5 separate regions of the Homo sapiens genome follow, and regions 1, 2, 3 and 5 are each linked to region 4. Evidence: promoter capture Hi-C in 16 types of primary human blood cells and fetal thymus (Javierre and others, 2016). All regions are on one chromosome and are shown on one strand. Each heading gives the region's core, a stretch centred on a gene start or on the middle of the fragment in contact. The rest is flanking DNA. Distances are from core to core; before and after follow the strand shown. Region 1 overlaps NAP1L4 (nucleosome assembly protein 1 like 4). Region 2 overlaps CARS1 (cysteinyl-tRNA synthetase 1). Region 3 has its middle 12 kb from the start of PHLDA2. Region 4 holds the start of ZNF195 (zinc finger protein 195). Region 5 overlaps OSBPL5 (oxysterol binding protein like 5).

The links. The method cuts DNA at HindIII sites, captures the fragments that hold promoters and counts their contacts. A CHiCAGO score of 5 or more calls a contact.
Region 1: a fragment that was not itself captured here is called in contact with the fragment with the promoter of ZNF195 in region 4 in 2 of 17 cell types (erythroblasts and M2 macrophages); the score reaches 5.2 in erythroblasts.
Region 2: a contact is called between a fragment that was not itself captured here and the fragment with the promoter of ZNF195 in region 4, in 1 of 17 cell types (erythroblasts). The highest score is 5.2, in erythroblasts.
Region 3: a fragment that was not itself captured here is called in contact with the fragment with the promoter of ZNF195 in region 4 in 1 of 17 cell types (erythroblasts); the score reaches 6.0 in erythroblasts.
Region 5: a fragment that was not itself captured here is called in contact with the fragment with the promoter of ZNF195 in region 4 in 1 of 17 cell types (erythroblasts); the score reaches 7.2 in erythroblasts.

The regions. Positions count from the first base shown.
Region 1 is chr11:2,977,255-2,981,779 of GRCh38, reverse strand. It overlaps NAP1L4 (nucleosome assembly protein 1 like 4), which reads left to right. Exons shown (of 16, transcript NM_005969.4): 2 at 2,543-2,573; 3 at 3,438-3,496. The coding sequence starts at 2,560. Among named protein-coding and RNA genes, the nearest start is that of NAP1L4, 13 kb to the left of the region's middle. The HindIII fragment of the contact is 821 bases long and covers 2,362-3,182 here.
Region 2 is chr11:3,033,314-3,037,858 of GRCh38, reverse strand. The region is part of intron 7 of CARS1 (cysteinyl-tRNA synthetase 1); the gene reads left to right. All of the region lies in intron 1 of CARS1-AS1 (CARS1 antisense RNA 1), which reads right to left. Among named protein-coding and RNA genes, the nearest start is that of CARS1-AS1, 6.2 kb to the right of the region's middle. The HindIII fragment of the contact is 369 bases long and covers 1,333-1,701 here.
Region 3 is chr11:2,939,524-2,944,055 of GRCh38, reverse strand. No RefSeq gene overlaps it. Among named protein-coding and RNA genes, the nearest start is that of PHLDA2, 12 kb to the right of the region's middle. RefSeq lists a silencer at 3,771-3,947. The HindIII fragment of the contact is 1,070 bases long and covers 2,497-3,566 here.
Region 4 is chr11:3,376,929-3,381,397 of GRCh38, reverse strand. It overlaps ZNF195 (zinc finger protein 195), which reads left to right and starts at 2,252. Exons shown (of 6, transcript NM_001130520.3): 1 at 2,252-2,360. The coding sequence starts at 2,358. It also overlaps the pseudogene TSSC2. RefSeq lists enhancers at 2,005-2,299, 1,988-2,551 and a silencer at 2,477-2,546. The HindIII fragment of the contact is 5,109 bases long and covers 1-4,469 here.
Region 5 is chr11:3,108,836-3,113,065 of GRCh38, reverse strand. All of the region lies in intron 7 of OSBPL5 (oxysterol binding protein like 5), which reads left to right. Among named protein-coding and RNA genes, the nearest start is that of CARS1, 54 kb to the right of the region's middle. RefSeq lists a silencer at 2,832-2,891. The HindIII fragment of the contact is 7,730 bases long and covers 1-4,230 here.

The sequences.
Region 1 (4,525 bases), core at 1,523-4,022, 400 kb after region 4:
TCTTGGCTCACGGCAACCTCTGCCTCCTGTATTCAAGCGATTCTCCTGCCTCAGCCTCCCGAGTAGCTGGGATTACAGGCGTGTGCCACCATGCCCGGCTAATTTTGTATTTTTAGTAGAGACGGGTTTCTCCATGTTGGTCAGGCTGGTCTCGAACTCCCCACTTCAGGTGATCCGCCCACCTCAGCCTCCGAAAGTGCTGGGATTACAGGTGTGAGCTACCACACCTGGCCTCCGTTAAAGGGTTTTTAAATCTTCACTGACTAGGGCTGGGTTTGGGTTGCTGCTGTGGTCATGGTGGTGAGCATAGCCAGCCATTGTAGGGTTTATTGCCTTTTTTTTTTTTTTTTTTTTTTTTTTTGAGACAGGGTACTTGCTCTGTTGTCCAGGCTGGAGTTCAGTGGCGCAGTCATAGGTCACTGCAGCCGCCAGGCCTCCAACTCCTGGGCTCGAGTGTTGCTTCTGTCTCAGCCTCTCAAGTAGCTGCGACCAGAGGTATCAGCCGCTGTGTCCAGCCTCATTTTTTTTTTTTTCTTTTTGTTTTGAGACAGTCTGACTGTGTCTTCCAGGCGGGAGTGCAGTGGTGTTATTTCAGCTTACTGCAACCTCTGCCTCCTGTGCTCGAGCGATTCTCCTGCCTCAGCCTCCTGAGTAGCTGGGACTACAGGTTCACACCAGCACGCCTGGCTAATTTTGTTTGTTTGTTTGTTTTTGTAGAGACGAGGTTTCCCCATGTTGCCCAGGCTGGTCTGAAACTCCTGAGCTTCAACTAATCTGCCCACTTTGGCCTCCCAAAGTGCTGGGATTATAGGCATGAACCACTGTGCCTGCTGCATTTTTTTTTTCTTTTTGGTTTTCATCTTCTTCATTAAAACATAATTTATTTTTTTTGAAAAAGACAATGTGTAATATTTGTTGTATTTTGAATCTTAAAAATAGCACGTTTTATTTCTAAACAATAAAAATTTTAAAAAAGTAGTTGAGTTAAATACAGGACAGTCATAGATCATAATTAGAACTGTTTTTGTTAAATATAGAGGGGTTTTTTTGTTGTTGGTTTTACCCTAAAGCTATGTGATTCAGTGGTTTGGGCTTTGCTCAGGTACTGAAGAATGAACATTGGCCAGTTTTCAGCTGGAACAACCGTTTAGCGAGGCCCTCAGGTGTATTTCCCACATCTGAGTTTAAGGAACTTCGTAACCACACCTGTATTATTTTACATTTAAGGACCTTTTTAAGCTGTGCATTTAGCTGTTACTTTAAATGCATTTAGATTAGATTTTGAAATTGTATAGGCCAGGCGTGTTGACTCACACCTGTAATCCCAACACTTTGGTAGGCTGAGGTGGGAGGATCTCTTGAGGCCAGGAGTTTGGGACTCAGCCTGGGCAACTTAGCCAGACCCTATCTCTACAAAAAATAAAATTAGCTGGGCATGGTGGCCTGCGCCTGTTGTCCCAGCTACTCAGGAGGCTGAGATGGGAGGATTGCTTGAGCCCAGTAAGTTGAGGCTGCAGTGAGCCAGGATTGCATCACTACACTGCAGCCTTGGTGACTGAGATCCTGTCTCAAAAAAAATGATAACTTTTTTTTAGTTTTATTAATATCAAGTTCTTCTATTTAAGAAGTAAATGCCCTAGAACACACCCTTAATATTCAGTTACAATGTCATCTAATTCTACCAATATAGAAATAATCATCTTTAAAAGTGGAATAATACTGAGTATATTACACAAGGTTTTTACACAAGCAATACATCCTCAGTGTAGAAGTAATGGAAGATACGGAATAAACAAATGCAATTAGAAAATAATCCCATAAGTTAATTTGAAAGTGTAAACACCAGTAAATGCTTTGACTTACTCTAAAATGGTTGGGCTATCATTAATGTATGTTTGTGTTGCCGAATGTATTATAAAAAATAAGGCAAATTAGAATTAATGTTATTCTGAAGTCTGGTTATTTTAGTGCCAATAAGATAATTTTATTTTATTTTATTTTTTTTTTTAGATGGAGTTTCACTCTTGTTGCCCAGGCTGGAGTGCAGTGGCATGATCTCCGCTCGCTGCAACCTCCGCCTCCTGGGTTCAAGTGATTCTTCTGCCTCAGCCTCCTGAGTAGCGGGGATTACAGGCGTGCACCACCACGCTCAGCTAATTTTGTATTTTTAGTAGAGATGGGGTTTCACCATGTTGGTCAGGCCGGTCTCGAACTCCTGAGCTCAAGTGACCCACCCACCTCGGCCTCCCAAAGTGCTTGGATTACAGGCGTGAACCACCGCGCCAGGCCGAGAAATTTTTTTATGAGTAAAGTTTGTGTGTGATGAAATGCACAGATCTGAAGTGTATAGTTTAATAAGCTTTAACAAGTGTATATACTCAGGTAACCTCAGTCAAGATCTAGAACATTTTCATCACTCTAGAAAGTTCCCTCCTGTCCCTTCTAGTGGACTCCATCCCACAGATAACCGTTGTTTAAAAAGTATATTGAACAAACATTTTTGCTTATGAATATAATTATTACAACTCTTTTTAATTTATAGGGGATAAAAACATTCAGATGGCAGATCACAGGTAAGCCAAAGTGGACTTTGTTTATTGGAGTTTAAAATTCAGTTGGTGAGCAACAGCCAAGCCATTTTTCAATAAATAATTAGAATCAAAGTTAAATGCATTTCAGCGTCTAGCTGATGGCTCATTTCTTGTGTATGTATTTGAGCACGTAAAGAAATTACTTCCGACATGAACAGTGCCTCAGACATTGACACTACAGATCTTTTATGGAAAGCAATCGTTTTGCTCTCCATGCTTTAACACCCCTGGGGTGAAGTTAGGTAATTTTGACACTCTCCTAACAGTCTGTAGTTGTCAGTGATCAAGTGGAAGATTTTGTTTTGTGGATTGAGGGTTACTTTTAGTTGTGTATATTATTTGATGTTTATTTTTTGTGAGGGAGGTGTGTCCAGGCATCTTTAAAAACTGTTTCATGGCTCATTTTACACTTGTTGTGGCTAATTTTACAAAGCCACTTTGGGCACTGTCTTAACTTGGTAAGACTGCCTTGCTCTGATCACATGAGCAGCTGACCAAACAGTAACATGTTCGTTGGTTGATGGGTTTGGTTTGAGGGCTGGGAGCAGATTTTTTGAGGAAAGAAGCTGTAGAAATGAGAGCTAAGAAGCTTTGGCTAAGGTTGGAAATAAGAACTTTGTAGGGCTTTATGTTTGGGAGAGGAGAGGGGATGTTACGTAGTAGAATATTTTTATAGCAGAGAGGACAGCCTCTGAGATAACATGCACATTGGTAGTTTTCTTCTGCCCAAATCTGACGTCACTGTACAGATACCTCTTAATATATTGAATAAGAAACATGTCCATTTGTGCTATGTCTTTGGAACTTTCTTTACAGTAATACTTTTTAAACATACTGTTGTTTTAGTTTTTCAGATGGGGTTCCTTCAGATTCCGTGGAAGCTGCTAAAAATGCAAGTAACACAGGTCAGTCCACTGCACATGGAGAGTTTGCATCCAGTATGGGGAACGTTCCTCTCTCTGGAAACATTTATTAATGCAAGTAAAGGATTCCTGTACTGCAGTGGTTTTAGGAAAGCTAGAGTAATTAAAATGAAAAATCAGTATCTCATTAACAAAAGATGTATTTATTATAGGAATTCAGACTCTACAGTAGTAAAGAGAGTAATAGTACAGTCTACCTTCTTGTAGCTACCATCAGTGAGCTTTAGTATTGATTAACAAATGACCAGTCTTTTTTCTTATTTTTGAGATGGAGCCTTGCTGTGTTACCCAGGCTGGTCTTGGACTCCTGGGCTCAAGCAGTTTCCTGCCGCAGCCTCCCAGGTAGTTGGGGCTACAGGCACAGACCACTGCTCCTGGCCATTTTTTTTTTTTTTTTTTAAGTCTATACCCTTTACTTTCCTTCCTTTGGAAAGCAAATCCTAAGAATGTCATTTTGTTCATAAATTCACAGATGTGATATTTTTCCACCATTAAAAAAAACTATATCTGTACTCCCCACTCCCTCCAAACTGTTTGAAAGCAAGTGGTGGATATCTATTTTCCTAAAACAATTCTACAATGTCATTACCAAGAAACTTAACACTGGAGCAATACCATTCTCTAATAGACAGTCATGCTCCTGTTTCCCTGGTTTTCTCAGCAATTTTTACCCCACGCCCGAATCTAGCACCTATTCAAGGATCATGCGTTTTGTTTTGTTCTAGAGTCATCTCCCTACCTTTTGCATCTTTTATTAATACATCAACATATCAGCGCTCTGGGCCACTGTTGTCTTATAGAATGCTCACAGTCTGGATTTGCCCAGTCGTTTCTTCCTGATGAGATTCAGGGTAAACATTTTGGCAAGAAGGGCACACAGGTAACATGATGCAGTGGTCGTTGGTTCCGGAGGCACAGGGTGTTGGCTCGGCACCTGCCCAAGGACACTGAGATTGATGATTAAGACAGTGCCTGCCAGACTTCTCTGTTACCAAGGTCCTTTCACCTTGG
Region 2 (4,545 bases), core at 268-2,767, 340 kb after region 4:
TTTGCCCCATTTCCTGGGTGCAGAGCCTGTGCCACTGGAAGGAGACTCGGGATCCACACCCTCCCACCACTTCCATCAGATAGGCAGGAGGTGCACTTGGAACGTGGGGAGGCAGCCTTCTGTCGAAGTGTTCCAAGATTCTCCAGCGGACTCTCCCCACACCAGCTGGAGAAGGAGGAGCAGGGATTAACATTGAATTGAGCATTGAGGCCTGTGGGTACCTACTGAGCTTGGGGCCTTCACGTTGACCAGCTCTCCTGCCCCTGCCAATATCTCCTTCAGACACAGGGCAGAGACCTGGGTGCAGAGGGGACCCTGCCCTCTTCCTCAGGCCTTTCCCTGTGGCTGGCGCCCTGGACACAGTCAGGAAGGCCTTCTCCTTTGTGCCAGCGCCGCCTGCTGGTCACCCTTTAAGAACTCGATGGAAAAGAGAAGAGACGGCTGCAGCTGTGTGTAGAAAAAGAGGCCCCACTGAGGCCGCAGCCCTGCCTTCCCTCACCACTGCCCTGGCCCCACCTCAGTGATGGGGCAGGGAGTCTGTGTCTGCCCTTCGCCAGCATGTTTCTTTCTAGTTTGGTCTCTTCTGTGTCCTGACTCAGCAGATCGCTTCGTTGCGCCTGTTTCCAAACTTCACGGAAACACGCCACGTGTATGTAGTCGTCAGTGTGCTTTCACCCAAGCTGTGCTTCTGGGACGACCCACATGTGGTCACTGTCACTGCCTCAGTGCCTGCCTGGGAGCCGAGCTGTTTGTCTGTTCTCCTGGGACGGGCAGTTAGGTTTCCTTCTTACCAACAATGCTGCTGTAATTTTTTTCCCAGTTGTTCCACTAATATTCTTTTTTTTTTTTTAATTGTGGTAAAACACACATCATAAGAAATTTACCATCTTAGCCATTTTTAAAAACTTTTTTTTTGTAGAGACAGGGTCTTTTTGTGTCTGGTTTATTTTGCCCAGCATAGTGTGCCCATGGTTGACCCATGCTGTAGTGCATGTCAGACTCTGCTTCCTTCCTATGGCTGAATGATACTCTGTTGTGTATAGATGGGCCACATTTTGCTCATCCTTTCACCTGCCCGTGGACACGTGGGTTGTTTCCACCTTTTGGAGATGCAAGTAATGCTGCTATAAACCTGGGTGTACAAATATCTGTTTGGGTTCCTGCTTTCACTTCTTTTGGGGATATACACGGAAGTGGAATTGCTGGGTCATGTGATGATTCTATTTTTGATATTCTGCGTAACCACCGTATTGTTTCTGCAGTGGCTGCACTATTACACATTCCCACCCATAGTGCATGGGGTTCTGTTTTCTCCACATCCTTGCCAAAGCTTGTTATTCTTCATTTTTTTCATCCCAGTAGGTGTGAGGTGGTATACTGTGGTTTTGGTTTGCATTTCCTTAATGGCTAGTGATGTGGAGTGTCTTTTGCTGAACTGTGAGTTGTTTTGTGTTGTCTCTAGGTGGACATTTGCAAGTTTCTTTAGGCCATATACCTGCAAGTGGAATCGCTGGGTTGTGTAGGATATATGTGAGTGACTGTCGGGGGTTCCCAACACTGCCCACACATTCTGGGGCCCTAGAAGGACTCATGAGACTCGGCATCGAGTTATCATCTTGTCTAAGGTTTGTAGCAGTGACACAGCGAGGAGCAGAAGCTCAGGCGGAGTCTTCAATCATCCATGGGCAGGCTGCTGAAGCTTCCTCCCTGCCTCCCATGAGGGGACACAGCACACTCTCCCCCACCAGGAAAAAAATGCAGCCACATGTGTGAAATGTCCCTCCCTAGGGAAGCCCATCACATAGGCACCCTCTGCCTGGCACGTGCCGCAATTCCTGACTCCCCAGGAGGAAAGCTGGTGTTCCACCTGCATAAGCCACAGTGTTTGTTCAACAGCCCACTGGGGGCTGCTGCCACAGAGCTGGGTTTCCCGGCCTCTTAGCACAGGGGACATTTCAGCTCCTGGATGCCAGCTAATGGCCAGCTCTGTAGGCAGGCCTTTCTCAGGTGGCAGACACAGACCTTCTAGGCTCACTTTTATCTTCATAGTAGCCATATCAGAAATGTCTATATGGCCAGGCACAGTGGCTCACACTTGTAATCCCAGCACTTTGGGAAGCCAGGGCAAGAGGATCACTTGAGCCCAGGAGCTCCAGACCAGCCTAGGCAAAATAGTGAGACTCTATTTCTACAAAACTTTTAAAAATTAGCCAAGCATGGTGATGCAAGCCTGTGGTTCCAGCTACTGGGGAGGCTGAGGTGAGACAATCACCTGAGCCCAGGAGTTTGAGGCTGCAGTGAGCCATGAACACACCACTGCACTCCAGCCTGGGCAGCAGAGTGAGACCCAGACTCTTAAAAAAAAAGAAAGAAATGTCTATGCAAATTTCTTCTTCTTCTACCACATTTTGGGTGTGCTGTGTATTTGCACATACACCTGCATTTGTATTGTTGGATTCTTCCCTTTCATCAGTCAATGAATGTGAAGTGCTGATTGCTGTGGTTTGAATGTCCCTTTTTCCAACCTCTCCTGAGACTGAGCATCTTGTCAAGTGCTTGCTTCCAGCTGTGATTCTGTGCCCCCATCTCTCCCCCTTTCCCATGAGGTTATTGGTCCTTTTCTTACTGTTTTGTATCATTCTTATGTCTTCTGATACTAATTACTATGATTTGAATGTTTGTCCCCTCCAAAACTCATGCTGAAACTTAATCCCTAGTGTAACAGTATTAAGAGGTAAGGCCTTTTAGAGGTGATCGAGTCATGAGAGCTCTGCCCTCATGAATGGGTTAATGGATTAATGGGTTATCACAGAAGTGGGGTAGTTATCATGAGAGTGGGGCTGTTACAGAAGCCAGTTTGGCCCTCATGAGCCCCCTGGCCATGTGATGCTCTGCGCCACCTTGGGACTCTGGGAAAAGTCCCCACCAGCAAGAAGGCCCAGAACAGATGTGGCCCCTTGACCTTGAACTTTCCAGCCTACAGAATTGTAAGAAATAAATTTTATTTAAAAATTACCCATTCCCAGGCAGGGCATCGTGGCTCATGCCTGTAATCCCAGCACTTTGGGAGGCTGAGGTGGGCAGATCACGAGGTCAGGAGATCGAGACCATCCTGGCCAACATGGTGAAACCCCGTCTCTACTAAAAATAAAAAAAAAAAAATTAGCTGGGTGTTGTGGCGTGTGCCTGTAATCCCAGCTACTTGGGAGGCTGAGGTGGGAGAATCCCTTGAACCAGGGAGTCAGAGGTTGCAGTGAGCCGAGATCGTGCTGTTGCACTGCAGCCTGGCGACGAAGCAAGACTCCGTCTCAAAAAGAAAAAAAATTTTACCCATTCCCGGCCAGGCGCAGTGGGTCACGCCTGTAATCCTAGCACTTTGGGAGGCTGAGGCGGGCGGATCACCTGAGGTCAGGGGTTTGAGACCAGCCTGGCCAACATGGCAAAACCCCGTTGCTACTAAAAATACAAAAATTAGCCAAATGTGGTGGCGCGCGTCTGTAATCCCAGCTACTCTGGAGGCTGAGGCAGGAGAATAGCTTGAAACCAGGAGGCGGAGGTTGCAGTGAGCCGAGATCACGCCACTGCATTCCAGCCTGGGAAACAGAGTGAGACTGTCTCAAAAAAACAAAACAAAACAAAACAAAAAACAGAAAACAAAAAAAAGAACAAACAAACAAAAAAACAGAAAACAGACTAAGACACGAATTCATCTCTGTTACATGTTGGCATGTGTTTGTGTCTCTTAATTCTGTTCTGTTGGTCAAATTGTCCAGCCCAGACCAGGTGCAGTGGCTCGTTCCTGTAATCATAGCACCTTGGGAGGCCAAGGCAAGAGGATCCCTTGAGCCCAGGAGTTTGAGATCAGCCGGGACAACATAGTGAGACTCTATCTCTACAAAAAGTTTAAGAATTTAAAATTTAAAAAATTTATAAAAATTGCCCAGTCCTGCAGGAGTATCATGCTGTCTCTCACAGGTATCTGATGGGTAAGAGGCCCCATCTTGGTTTTGTCGTTAGGTGTGTTTTGAAGCCTCAGCTTGTCAAGTTCCATGTAAGACACTGTTGGGATTTTACATGTTGTATCTAAGAACCATCTCAGATCCAGTTTGGCTGTGTTGATCCTCTGTAGTCTTTTTGTTTTATCAGTTTTTGTCCATTCTTTATTCCTTCTTTTCTTCTTTTTCCTTTGGATTTATTCTGTTTTTCTTTGTCTCATTTAGCAGTTTAGCTTATTTTCTGATTTAAGAATTTAAGGCTATACATTTTCCTCTGACTGTTTTTGCTGCAAAATTTGACATCATTTACTTGTAAACAATTTCTAATTTCCATTTTGGATTTTTTAGCCCAGGAATTATCTAGAAGTAATTACCTAAAAGTTAATTATCTAGAATTACTTAGAAGTTTTAAATTTCCAAATTTAAATTGGATGGTACTTTTTCATATTAACTTATTGTTATTCGCTTATAACTTAATTACCCAGTGGTTGGAGAGTATGGTCTGTCCCAATCTGGATCTGTGAACAGAGACTTGTGTTGTGGCCCCTGT
Region 3 (4,532 bases), core at 1,782-4,281, 440 kb after region 4:
ACAATGAGAGGAGGCACTCAACACCTGCTGCACAGGCACTTCCTGACCTGACCGTGGGAATCCCAGCCTTGGCAGCGCCGCCTGGTGAATGAAACGCTGTCATGAGAAGGCAGCCGTGGAGCTGGCTCATTGCTCCCCACGTGGCTGGCCCCGCCCTGCTGCCTCCAGCTCACCCGTGGGCTGCCTTCTCTCTGGGAGCAGCAGGAAGGGCAGGTGCAGGCTGGGAAGTGAATGCTTGCAGCATACCCCCAAGGGCCGGGGAGCCTGATGTCTGTGCTTCCTGCACCCGTTCCTCCGTCCCCATCCTGTGAAGTACCTGGGGGAGCTTGGTCTCAGGCTCCCCAGCCTCAGGGTGGCCCCATGGGTGAGCAGCACCCTGGCCTTACTTGGTCTGCCCAGGGTCAGACCCCATAATCCAAGGGGCATATGCTGTTTTGCAGTGACCCGCCCTTCAGCTGCGGAGACAGCCCTGCACACTGCCCTGTCCACTGGGTGCCCAGAGTGCCTTTTTAGGAAGGGCTCCACAGGCTTGGGGAGTGCCCCTCACTACCTAGCTGGGTGGTTTTAGATCAGATTTGCACTTTTCGATCAGATTTGCACAAGCAGGGGAAAGGGCTTAACATTGTGGCTTCTGGGGGTGGGGGTATCTGGATTTTCCCTTTTGAGTAAGAAGTGTGTGAGAACCCTGCACCCACCTGCGTGCATCCTTCACTGAGCTGGGTTCCTGTGTCCGCCAGTGAGTCTGACCTTGGGAGTGCATGGTTCGTGGATGCTGCCCAGTTCCAAGGACATCTGGGTGCAGGACCTCAACGTGAAGCCTGGGGAGCTGTGGAGGCCCGAGGGTGCAGGCAACCTGGTCTCCCCCAGGACCTCAGCACCTCCGGCCTCTGTCACCCCTGCATGGCCGCCGTGTCCTGCCTGCACCCCAGGGTCTCAGAAAAGGGAAGGTCATTCTCCAGTGGCCAAGGAGCCCAGGAACCATCCCAGGCCCAGGCCATTGTCAGCTCAGGAACCTCAGCCATCAGTGGTCACCGAAAGTCGCTGAGTGGTTGAGAGGTTTGCCCAGAGCCACCATCTGGAAGGCAGCTGGGAAGTGGGGGCTTGTGGCGGCCGCCCAGCCTGGCCTGGGTGAAGGGTGGCTGCTTCCCTTCTGGTCCTGGAGGCCAGGGGGTCTGCCACAGAACCTCAGCTCTGCTAGCCCAGGCCCTCCTTTTTCCCGACTCAGCCCCTGGCTGGGGAGGCAGACATTCACCGTCCAGCCCCGCCCCACCCACCCCACCCCGCTTGGGGCTCCCCCAGCCCCTGCCCTTCCTGTGACTGTTCACCCTGTGCGGGAACTGAGACTCAAAACCAGTGGCGCTGGGGTCAGGGCAGGAGTTTGGGGAGCAGCCCGGGAGATGGGAGGTGGGGCCTGGGGCACCCCCACCCCCTGCACAGGTGGCTCAGACGCTTCTGTCAGCTGCCATCACACGGGTGCTCCTGGGCAAGGAGGGAAAGAACCCGCACGGCAAGCAGCCAGGCACAGAAGACCTGGAGGGCCCTGTTTCTGTCCGGTTCTAGAGCCTGCAAAGCTATAGTGCCGGTGACTGCCTGGGAGGGATCTGGGGTGGGGGGACTGACCAAGGAACGCTTTAGAGGGATGGAAGTGGTTACACAGGTGTATACGTCTGTCAGAATTCATTGAGTTACATCAAAAATGGGTATATTTGGTTGTATATAAGTTAGTCCTCAATGAAGCTCAGCGTTGTTTTTTTTTTTGAGACGGAGACTCGCTCCATTGCCCAGCCTGGAGTGCAGTGACACCATCTCGGCTCACTGCAATCTCCACCTCCCAGGTTCAAGCGATTCTCCTGCCCAGTCTCCCAAGTAGTTGGGATGACAGGCATGCACCACTGCACCTGGCTAATTTTTGTATTTTTAGTAGAGATGGGGTTTCACCATGTTGGCCAGGCTGGTCTCGAACTCCTGACCTCAGGTGAACTACCCACCTTGGCCTCCCAAAGTGCTGGGATTACACGTGTGAGCCACCGTGCCTGGCCTGAAGCTCAGTTTTCAGAAGTCCCCAAAACAGGGTGATTCCACTTAAAATTCTGTTTTTTCCCTTGAGTCAGGAGCTATGGCTCCCTAGAACCTGATGGCTGCTGCTTTCCCCAGCAGGGTCACCTGGGACCCTTGTCCACAGCTGCCTGGCGTGTGGGTCCGCGGGTGGTGTGTACCCCAGGTCAGCCTACCTGGCCAGTCTGCTCTCTAGGCTCATGACTCCCGTTTATGTGGAGCTGGGACCAAGCCGACATCCCACTCTGCTCCTGTCCTGCTGCCCAGCAAACCTCCCCAGGCCCAAGGGCCACCCATGGGGCCAGAGCCCCCTTCCCCAAGTCCCAGGTCCAGGGCTTCCTGCCACCCCACCCATCTTGTCCCACTCTCAAAATGCCCTAGGCTGCCCCCAGCCCCATCGCTGGGCAGGCTGAGTCAGCATGAGCTGCCAGGATCCAAGCTTGCCCCTGAGGTGGGAGGCAGGGGTGGGGTGGGTAGGGGGCAGCCAGCTGGCTCCACCAGCCAGCCAGGTGGGTAGGTGGAGCCCCTGGCCTCTGCCTGGCTCATCCAGGCACACCTTGATATTACTGACCTCTGACCTGCCCCTGCTGGGTCCTTGGCTTGCCTGGCTCTGAGTCAGGGCTCAGGGCTGGGCAACTGGTGAGCAACAGAGGAACAGCCAGGGGCAGCGGTGGGAGAAGTGACCGTCCCAGACTCAGCCAACTCCAGCTGCAGTGCCCTGAGGGAGCCCTGGGCCTGCAGAAGGGGTTGCTGTGTGCAGAAGCCTGTGGTTCCCTGCCAGCCAGGCCAGCCTGGCCACAGCCTGGCATGGACTTCGGCCTCTGCCCCAAAACCCTCAGAACAGGTGCCTTCCCAGGTTCCTTCTGCTGGAGCAGGCACCTCCTCCCCAGCCCGCCCCAGGGAGCATCCCCATGTGGAGTGGGGGGCCCAAGGGACCCCAGGCCCAGCTGTTTGGACCCCACCCACCAGGAGACACTGGCAAGCAGTGGCCCCCAACAGCAGGGCCTCCTGGAAGGACGCCTCCTCGGGCTGGCCCTGGCTGAGCTTCTGATGCGCTGAATTTGGTGTGGGTTTCCAGGCACCTCATGCGCCTGGGACATTCCCCATTTAAGAGATGCAGACCCGAGTCTCAGGACAGAAGCCAGGGCCCAGCTCTTGCAGGGTGAGGCCTGGACGCCTCTTGCCGAGGCCAGGTCACCTTGGTGTGCCTGAGGGAGGCCCCGCCTGCTAGGCTGTCCCCAAGGTGCCAATCACTAGCCCATCCTGGCCATGCTGACTCATGGCTCTCTGAGGGTGGCAGCCGGATGTTACTTACCATGACAACCCAACAGCCTGGCCCAGCCCAGCCCAGCCCAGGAGAAACGGGGCAGCTACAGCTGTGTCCAGGACCCCACTCAGGGCGGACCCACACAGATCACCCTTGTCGAGCTCCTCAAGAAGTCTGTGGTGTCCACCAAGTTTCCAAATCTCCCTAGGTCTCAGTTTCTGTATCTGGGACATGGGGAGAAGCTTCACCTCCTCAGAACCCAGACCCTGGGCATGGCAGGGCTGCCCACACCGGCCCTCACCAGTGCCTGCCTGGCTGGAAGCCAGTCCGAGGAGGGAGGACAGTGCCTCACTGAGCAAGGCGGGTGCAGGGCTGGGAGGACAAGAGGGAACGCCTGGAGATGGGGCCTCAGGTGCAGGCACTGGCCAGAGTTGCTAGAGTCTGCTGCCCCCAGCCTGGGGGCCGCCAGCGAGGGCCTGAAGTGGTCCCTGGGTCTCAACCTGCCCCTTTTCAGCAGGGGCTGCCCTCCCCAAGGACCAGAACACCAGACCTTATGTGGGGACCCTTCCTCGTCATCTGGGGGCTCCAGGCATTCCTTGGCTTGCAGCCACTTCCTTCCGATTTCTGCCTCTGTCTCACGTGGCCTCCTACCCCTATGCCTGCTTCTCCATAGTTCTCCCTTGTGAGGCCCACCTGGGTAGTCCAGGGGAAGCTCCTGCTCTCAGGGGCCTTTCCTATATCACACCCTAGCCACTAAGGTCATGTTCACCCATTTGCCATCAAAGGTAACATTCGTGGGTTTCAGGGAGTAGAACATGGATATGTCTTATTGGGGGCCACCATTCAGTCCATGAAAGGGGTCTTTCAAACAGACCAAAGCACATGAAGAGGGGAAAAGACAGCCACGCCAAAGGCCACAGACACCCAGAGAGATGGCTGCCCCCACCCCAGGGATAGAGAAATGTGTGTGAAGACCTCAGTTTTTGACCACCAGATTGTGGGGTTTTGTTGTTGTTGTTGTTGTTGTTTTGTTCGTTTGTTTGGTTGTTTGGTTTTTCCTGAGACAGGGTCTCACTCTATGGCCCAGGCTGGAGTGCAGTGACACTTTCTCAGCTCACTGCAACCTCTACCTCCCAGGGTGAAGCAATTCTTCTGCCCCAGCCTCCCGAGTAGCTGGGATTACAGGTGCATGCCACTGCACTAGGGTAAT
Region 4 (4,469 bases), core at 1,003-3,502:
GCTGCAGAGCCAGGCAGAGCTGATCCTGAGTACCAGCCCAGCTGCTTAGCAGCTGTGGGACTTTGGGCAAGGTTCTTGACTTGGAGCAGTAATATAAACCTCTTCTGCAAGAAAGGGTAGAATAATACTGATTGCAGAAACAGCAGCAATGCTTCATTACTCTCTGTATCTATGCTCTTTATTGTGTGCTCTTACAGCTCCTCCCATCAAGAGGCCGAATGTGTTTCCCAAACTTTGCATCTGGCTGGCACTATTTTCTCTGGCTATAGAAAACTGTTGTATTAGTTTGTTTTCACACTGCTGATAAAGACATTCCTGAACATGCGAACAAAAAGAGGTTTAATTGGACTTACAGTTCCACATGGCTGGGGAGGCCTCAGAATCATGACGGGAGGCAAAAGGCACTTCTTTCGTGGTGGCGGCAAGAGAAAAATGAGGAGAAAGCAAAAGTGGAAACCCCTGATAAACCCATCAGATCTCGTGAGACTTATTCACTAACATGAGAATAGCATGAGAAAGACCCGCCCACATGACTCAATTACCCCCTTCCCCGGTCCCTCCCACAACACACGGGAATTCTGGGAGATACAATTCAAGTTGAGATTTGGCTGGGGACACAGCCAGACCGTATCAACTGCGAATATGACAGCTTTTGTGCTAGTTTTGGGCCTAGGCTCAAAAGGTCTTAAATGCTTCTGTGTTTCTCAGAACCTTGCTATCTTTATGAGATCAAGCTATCAGAACCTTGCTATCTTTATGAGATTAGCCAGCTGGAGGATGACATACCATGGTGGGGAGAAGGAAGGTGCCACTGTTGATAGCCATCTCATCCCCAGAAGCAGAGCCACCTAGTCAACCAGCAGCTGGCCATACATACATGAAGCAGTCCAGTTGTGACAAGAATAGCTCAGTTGAGTTCAGCGTGAATGGCTGATGAACTCAATCATGAGCTATTAAGTTTTCGGTGATTTGTTATGCAATAGCTAACTAATACATGCACCCAGGGCAGATAGGGTGCCAGGATTCAATGAAAGGTTGATTCCTAGTTACCTGCAAGAAGAAAGCACTTTATAGGTACTAATTCTCCCCCCTTATTTAAAGTTGGATCTTTTGTAAGATAATGTTCCGTCATACAGAAATGCATGTACACATGTATATATGTGATTGGTGCTTTTACTCACACAGCCCCCCAACCACGGGAAGAAACAGACAATCACAGCTTGATCATTAGGGCTAAGGCCAAATAGCAAGATAAGTCTGCCTCTAGTCTATTTCCTCCATATCTAAATGTTGGAGGTCAAGGCTATGGACAGATCTGAAGATGTGTTCTCTCCTCTTAGGGCCCCATTATTGATGGGCAGCAGTCCTCTACCCGTGGATATTTTCTTTTGCTTTCCCCTATGCTCTCTAGGATCACCATCTCGTCCACCCTTCGACCGGAGGAGAGATGTTTGTAGCAAGAGGCTGTTCCCTCACCTCTGGCTGAAAAGGGACTTTCAGACCCTCCACTTCCTGACATAAGGGAGGTTAGACCTCAGAGCTGCACTTTAGTGTGGCAGCTATTGATCATGTGTGGCTATTGAATAACAGGAATACAGCTGGTCTGAACTGAAATGTGCTGAAAAGGTAAAATACAGAGTGAGCTTCAAAGATTTAGTACCCCAAAATATATACTTCCTTACCAATTGTATATTGACCATAGAGGAAAATGGTTACATACTGGGTTAAATTATTACAATCAACTTCACCTGTTTCTTAGTACATTTTAAAACGTGGCTACTAGAAAATTTAAGATTCACACATGGCTTACATTTTAATTCTTAGAGGCTTGAATCCTTTTTGAAATTTCAGGCTGTCTGTTCAAAGGACCAAAAGCCAGGAAGGCCATAAAATATAAAAATTCAAAATGATTGTCTTTATTTTCTTCTTTCCATTGGTGAATAACATATATTTATTATTTATAAATAAACATAACCGCAGTCACAAGATGAAATGTAAATATCCTCTAGGTGGGGCCGGACAGCGCAGGCAGGAAGCCCCGCTCCAAAAGATCGCGGCCAGCACCTGTCCTTGCTGTCTCATTCGGCCCATTGTCTGATTACAGCTCCTGTCACTCAGGGCCTGAGGGGGCGGGGCGTGATGCCCTATCCAATCAGAGGAGTAGGGGCGGGGACTGTCCAATCAGGCACATGTCTGGAGAGGAGAGGACGGCTTCCGGGATCTAGCGGGGCCTTTGTCCCGACAGAGCTCCACTTCCTGTCCCCGCGGCTCTGTGTCCCCTGCTAGCCGTAGGTCGTGTGACCCGCAGGCACCGGGAGATCCAGAAGTGAAACGCCAGGCTCTCTGGAGGCCAGGAGATGGTGAGTGTAGGGGCCAGGCCTCCTGAGAGACAGGGAGGGGCGGACTGGAACCCGCGGTACCGGCTCGGGAGGAACCGGGCTGCCCGGGTGGGTTCCGGGCTCCGCGGACCCGAGGCCCCTCCAGCTGCACCATGGCGGCCGGGCCCCGCGCGCCCCGGCGCATCCCTGCAGAGCGGCTTTGGCCCAAGCCCAGAGCCATGTCCCCCCGGCAGCTCTTCGCCCGCAGACCCTCGTCTCCCCGAGTCAGGAAGGGAGAATCCCGACTCCGTGGGTGGTTTGTGCATAAGAGGATGATCTGTAGCCCGTGGGGGCCCCAGTCCCTCCTTTCTCTCGAGGGAGTCCTTGCAAAAATGTGAAAGAGTTTTATTTGAGCAAAGAGCGATTCATGAATGGCAGAGGACCCAACCATGTTTTTTGGGTTTGGAGGTCCCACCAGCCGGCCTTGAAGGAAAGGCTTTTATCAGGTGCATGAGGAAGCAAACCACATTCATTCATTAGTTCGGTACAGTTACGTCATCTCCTGATTTCAGCTATCTAGGCTGAAATTTTCTGGTCCTGTAATCAGAAGTTAATTAGAGGTTTGTGGTTGACGAAGCCTGAATTTTGTTTCTGCAAGATAGTCATTTGCAAGAAACGCATCTGAGTTAGATTTTTTTTTTTAACCTAAGAACCCAGGGCACTAGAGCCACCTCAGTCGGATTGCCTGCTATTTAATTATTATTATTTTTGAGATGGAGTCTCGCTCTGTCCCCCAGGCTGGAGTGCAGTGGCGCGATCTCGGCTCACTGCAACCTCTGCCTCCCGGGTTCAATCAATTCTCCTGCCTCAGCCTCCCGAGTAGCTGAGATTACAGTCCTGCACCACCACGCCCGGCTAATTTTTGTATTTTTAGTAGAGACGGGGTTTCACCATGTTGGCCAGGCTGGTCTTGAACTCCTGACCTCATGTGATCCGCCTGCCTTGGCCTCCCAAAGTGCTGGGATTACAGTCGTGAGCCACTGCGCCCAGCCTGGACGGCACTTTTTAAGAGATTTGTTTTCTGTTTGTAATCATTCCACGTGACAGGAAAGCAGAGAATCATCCCCTGACGCTATTGTAAAAAGTCTTTGTGCCTCTCCTCCTTTTTATTTTCCCTAGGCACAGACACCTTACCAGAATGTCTTTGGTTTGAGGTTCCACTTTGGAAACTTGACAGGGTGATTTGCTCTCAGCCACCCTCTGGACTTTTTCCTCAGTTTCAGTATTGTCCAGGGATAACACAGGATGCCCACCATGGCCATGTCTGCTGGAGCATCTAGTGAATTTCAGGCCCTGGGTTATTTCTCAGAGGACAGCCTGAGGTATGAAGTGTGGCCTCTCCAGGGAGCAGCTGGATGCCCTGGGCTGAGAGAAATCTCCTGGTCTACTCTTCCTCTAAAGAGGTAACCACTTAGGACATTAAGATTGTCTTCACCCAACCCAACTTTCAATCCCTGGAGACACATGGCTGATCAGCCAATCACATGCCCCTGTCAGAGGGAAAAGACCGAAATCATTTCTGCCCTTTGGACTCTCAGATTTGTGAAGGGAGACAGAATGTTTCAAAGAGCAAGAAAAACTCCACCCCGTGAGATGGTGCAAAACCTGTAAAGCAAAATTCACCTGGGACACTCAGCGGGGCACAGTGCAGTGTATCATCGGGGGTGGCCGGTGAGCACTTCGGTGAACAGGATGGAGGTGGGAGAATCTCCCAAGGAATAGAATAGCCTGACTTGACACAAGTCATTAGCTGTGTCTGTGTTCCAGTCGGCACTGCCACTCTCTGTGTCTCCTTGAAATAATTTATTCACTTACTGCAATGTTGGATTTTTAATTGTAAATTTACATTTTATCAGTAGAGCTTGAAAGGTAAGAAAATACTTACAAAGGACATGAAATAGGTCAATTTCAGGAAAAAAGTTAAATATCTAGTCATACATACCTTTTTCTTCTCCAGAGTGATTAAGGGTAGAAAGTTACTTAGGTCTGTTCTTTTGTGGAAGATGATTTCCAACAGAATCCCAGGGCTTAGCTTTGGGAATGCTACCAGGGAACATAAAATGCTTCTTGGATGGCTGTGGAGAATGTTTA
Region 5 (4,230 bases), core at 1,485-3,984, 270 kb after region 4:
TTTTATATATTTTCAGTAGTGAAACATTGTGTACACGACACATAAATACATAGACATATTAGGCATGGCAATAGAAGTACATCTCATAGGTTTATAAAAATTTTTTTTTCCTGTCTTAGACTTTCAGATTCTTGATAACCTGTTTCACAACCCTAGGCAATTGTCAGCTAAATAGCCTTAAATTTGCATATTAAGGGAAACAACTCAGGTGAAAATCAAATAGCAAAATTTGCATAAGGTACAGAGAGAAAAAGTCTGGTGGTGCTAGAGGGAGACTAAAGATGGATGCCAAATCAAACAAAATTATAGAAATCTATCATAGGATTGCATAAGGAGACCAATTTTATGTAGTAGGGACTACCTATCATTTAACTGGATCTCTGAGCTCTGGGAAGAGCCCACACTGAATCCTAGGTCTCCAGAAAGGGAGAATTATCATGAGGTTAGACCACGTGATGCTTTTATAGTGCACTTACAAATTTTTTTTAAACAAAGACATTTCTAAGTGTCTAAACCACACTCTTCCTTAAAAGCCCAAGAGTAACCACTGTTGCAATAACTACTTTAGTCAAAAAAAAAAAAAAAAAGAAAAGAAAACACAAAACAGGTTACACAATACAAAAGTAAGCAGTTTAAGAGCTGAGACAAACTTGTCTGTTTACATTCTTGGGGTTTCATAAGAAAAAACAAGTTTCTCCCCCAAGGGGAGTCTGGCACCCTCTCCATTTTCTTTAAGGAACCCCAGGCTACTATAAACTATTTTAGGTCCCCCATGCGGCAGAAGGTGCAAGAGAAAGGAGAGACAGCAGAAGTAAATCAAGAAACAGAATTCAGTCAACTGAGAAGAAAAAACCCTTTTGCTCAAAAAAAGACAAGGTCCTAGGAGAAAAACAAAAACAGAAACATGAAGGTCTCTTAAATACAAACACACACATATGCGCACACACACACATGCACACACACATATGCACACACACATGCACACACACATGCACACACACATACACATGCACACACATGCGCGCACACATACACACACATGCACACACATGCGCGCACACACACACACATGCACACACATGCGCGCACACATATGCACACACACACACACAGCTTGGATGTTAGCTTTTCATTAAACTGACTTTTAACCATTGAGCTTCTTTGAAAAAATCTTTTTAAATCTCATTCCATATTTCAACTAGGACAAATTTCAACGAGGACACAGAAGTACAGTCATTACTCTTTCAGTTTGGCCTAGCTAGTGAAAATGTGGCCTTGTTATATGAATAAAGCCCCTTAGTAGTCAAAATCAAAATCTTTCCTCTTTTTTTTTTCCTTTTGCTGGCCGTTTTTCTCCCCCCATCACGCCACCATTGTGTGTGGGGGTGGGGAGGGGAATTCAGCCACTTCAGAGGCCTTGTTCCCCATAATTTGGAACTTCCTTCAGATTTGATCAAGCCAGATAGAGGTCAATGGGAAAAAGACCAAAACAACAAAAACAGAAACAATCAACAACAAAAAAACAGTTAAGCGAAACAAACAATCGCACAACTTACGTGATCACTGAGTGCTCTAATGGTAAGGAGAAATTAAGACCAGCTGGTTGTTAATCTTAACTTTAGCTAAGACAAACCACAATTCAGTTACTTCCCTAGGGATGGGTCTCAGGCTGAAAACTCAGATCTCCACCATCCTGGGAGCAGGAAAAAAAAAAAATTCATCTTCCCTGTTGGAAGCAAGCTCGAACTCCATAAAGGAGTTACCTGCCTTCCATCGTCATGGAAGCAGGGAAAACTTGCCTTCCTTGTATCGGAAGCAAGTAAAACTCCAAAAAGAGAAGTTGTAAAACAAAATAAACTTTAGATCTCGACCAAATTTTGAGAGATCAGGGATTCTCTGTGGCAGGGGGTGGGGGTGGGGCACGGGGGGAGGTGCTTCCAGGCCTCAGCAAATTGTCTTATTGGTTTGAGCCATAAAGTTAGCTCAAGCTGGTACCAAGCACCAATAGGAGACTTGTGAAAAGTCAGGGGCATCTCCACTCAGAATCCTTCAGTGGTTACCAAAATGTTTGAACCCTGAAAATCTGAGACAGGTCTCAGTTAATTTAGAAAGTTTATTTTGCCAAGGTTGAAGACGCCTACCTGTGACACAGCCTCAGGAGGTCCTGACGATGTGCCCAGGGTGGTCAGAGCACAGTTTGGTTTTAGGGAGACATGAGACATTAACCAACATATGTAAGATGAACATTGGTTTGGTCTGGAAAGGCGGGACAACTTCAAGCGGGGAGGGGCTTCCAGGTCATAGGTAGATAAGAGAAAGATGGTTGCATTTTTTTGAGTTTCTGATGAGCTTCTCCAAAGGAGACAATGAGATATGCATTTATCTCAGTGAGCAGAGGGGTGACTTGGAATAGAATGGGAGGCAGGTTGGCCCTAAGCAGTTCCCAGCTTGGGTTTTTCCCTTTAGCTTAGTGATTTGAGGGGCCCAAGATTTTCCTTTCACACCAGGCACCATTGAAACAACAGGTTCTACTGTTATCATCCACATTAGACAGGTCAGGAAACTGAGGCACAGGCAAACTGCCAGCAAGAAAGTGCTAGAACGAGAATTTCCCTGACTCCCAAATGCATTGCACGCTGTTGCTGTTCCCTGAGTGGCCGCTCAGGCAGCTGTGACTGCGATGATCCTCCACCTGGAGGGATTCCCTCTTGGCCGTTCCTCCCTCTAACCTGAGGTTGGGGCCCTACCCCACCTCGCCCTCCAGTGGCTGCTCTGGGTAAATGCGGTTGCTCCACCTCCTCTAACCCCAGGGTGATGCCTCCCAGAGCAGTGGGGTGAAGGGCTCCCATCCCGCCGGTGGTGCAGACCTAAAGCAGTCTGGCCTTGACCACGGGGCTCCGGTGCCTCTCAGGTTGGAGTCTCGGTGCCACATCACCCCTGGTGGTCAGATGCCACATCCATGCTCCTTCCTGGGCCATCCTGAGTGCCCCACTATGTGCCAGGTCCCATGCAGGCCCGGGGATGGCCAGGGCAGCCCACAGCCTCTGTGCTCCTGGGTGAGGTGGATAACCAACCATCAGATAAGGCAGGTTGGGCTGAGGTGTGAGCTGAGCCCCTGATAGGGTGTGGGCCACCATTCGGGAGGAGAGGTGTCTGCAGCCCCTGTGGGTATCAGGGTGGGCTTCCAGGAAGAGGAGGAAGAGGTCTCGGAATGAGCTTCAAAGGATGCATAATATTCAGGATGTCTAGTCCTTTGTGGCAGCTACAAAGCACACGTGTTCAGGCCCTGGGGCCAACTCGGCAGTTGTGACCCCTCCAGCTCCCCACCACCATCCACTGCCATCCCTCCCCCAACCCTGGTGTTCCGCCCAGGCTTGGCCGCTCTGGCACCAACCAAGCCTGCAGTGGAACCAGCAGGATCCCAGATATCCCCCCAACCCAATGAGAAGGGCAGCTCTAGAGACCCAGGAGCCACTGTCTAGGCAGGCCCCTCCCTACACTGGACCCTGAGATGCCCCACGAAGAGCAGGATTTAATGGATCTCAAAGTGAGGGAGAAAAACTCACTGTCTCCAGGAGCTCGAAAAGGCAGAGGCTCAGAGAGGCACAGAACCGCCTTCAATGCTCTTCAGCCCCATCCTCCCACCTGACGTGACCCCAGGAGGCTTTCTTTGAATAACACTTACTAACAGCCCAGGCACAGTGGCTCACACCTGTAATCCCAGCACTTTGGGAGGCCGACGCAGATCACTTGAGGCCCAGAGGTTGAGACCAGCCTGGCCAACATGGTGAAACCCCATCTCTACTAAAAATACAAAAAAATTACAGGCAGGCACCTGTAATCCCAGCTACTTGGGAGGTTGAGGCAGGAGAATCACTTGAACCCTGGAGTCAGAGGTTGCAGCGAGCTGAGATCACCCTACTGCACTCCAGCCTGGGTGACAGAGCGAGACTCCATCTCAAAACAACAAAAAAACAAAAACAAAAAACACACTTATTGACCCGGTGTGGTGGCTCACACCTGTAATCCCAGCACTTTGGGAGGCCAAGGCAGGCAGATCACCTGAGGTCGGGAGTTCGAGACCAGCCTGACCAACATGAGGAAACCCTGTCTCTACTAAAAATACAAAATTAGCCGGGTGTGGTGGTGCATGCCTGTAATCCCAGCTACTCAGGAGGGTGAGGCAGGAGAATCGCTTGAACCCGGGAGGCAGAGGTTGCGGTGAGCTGA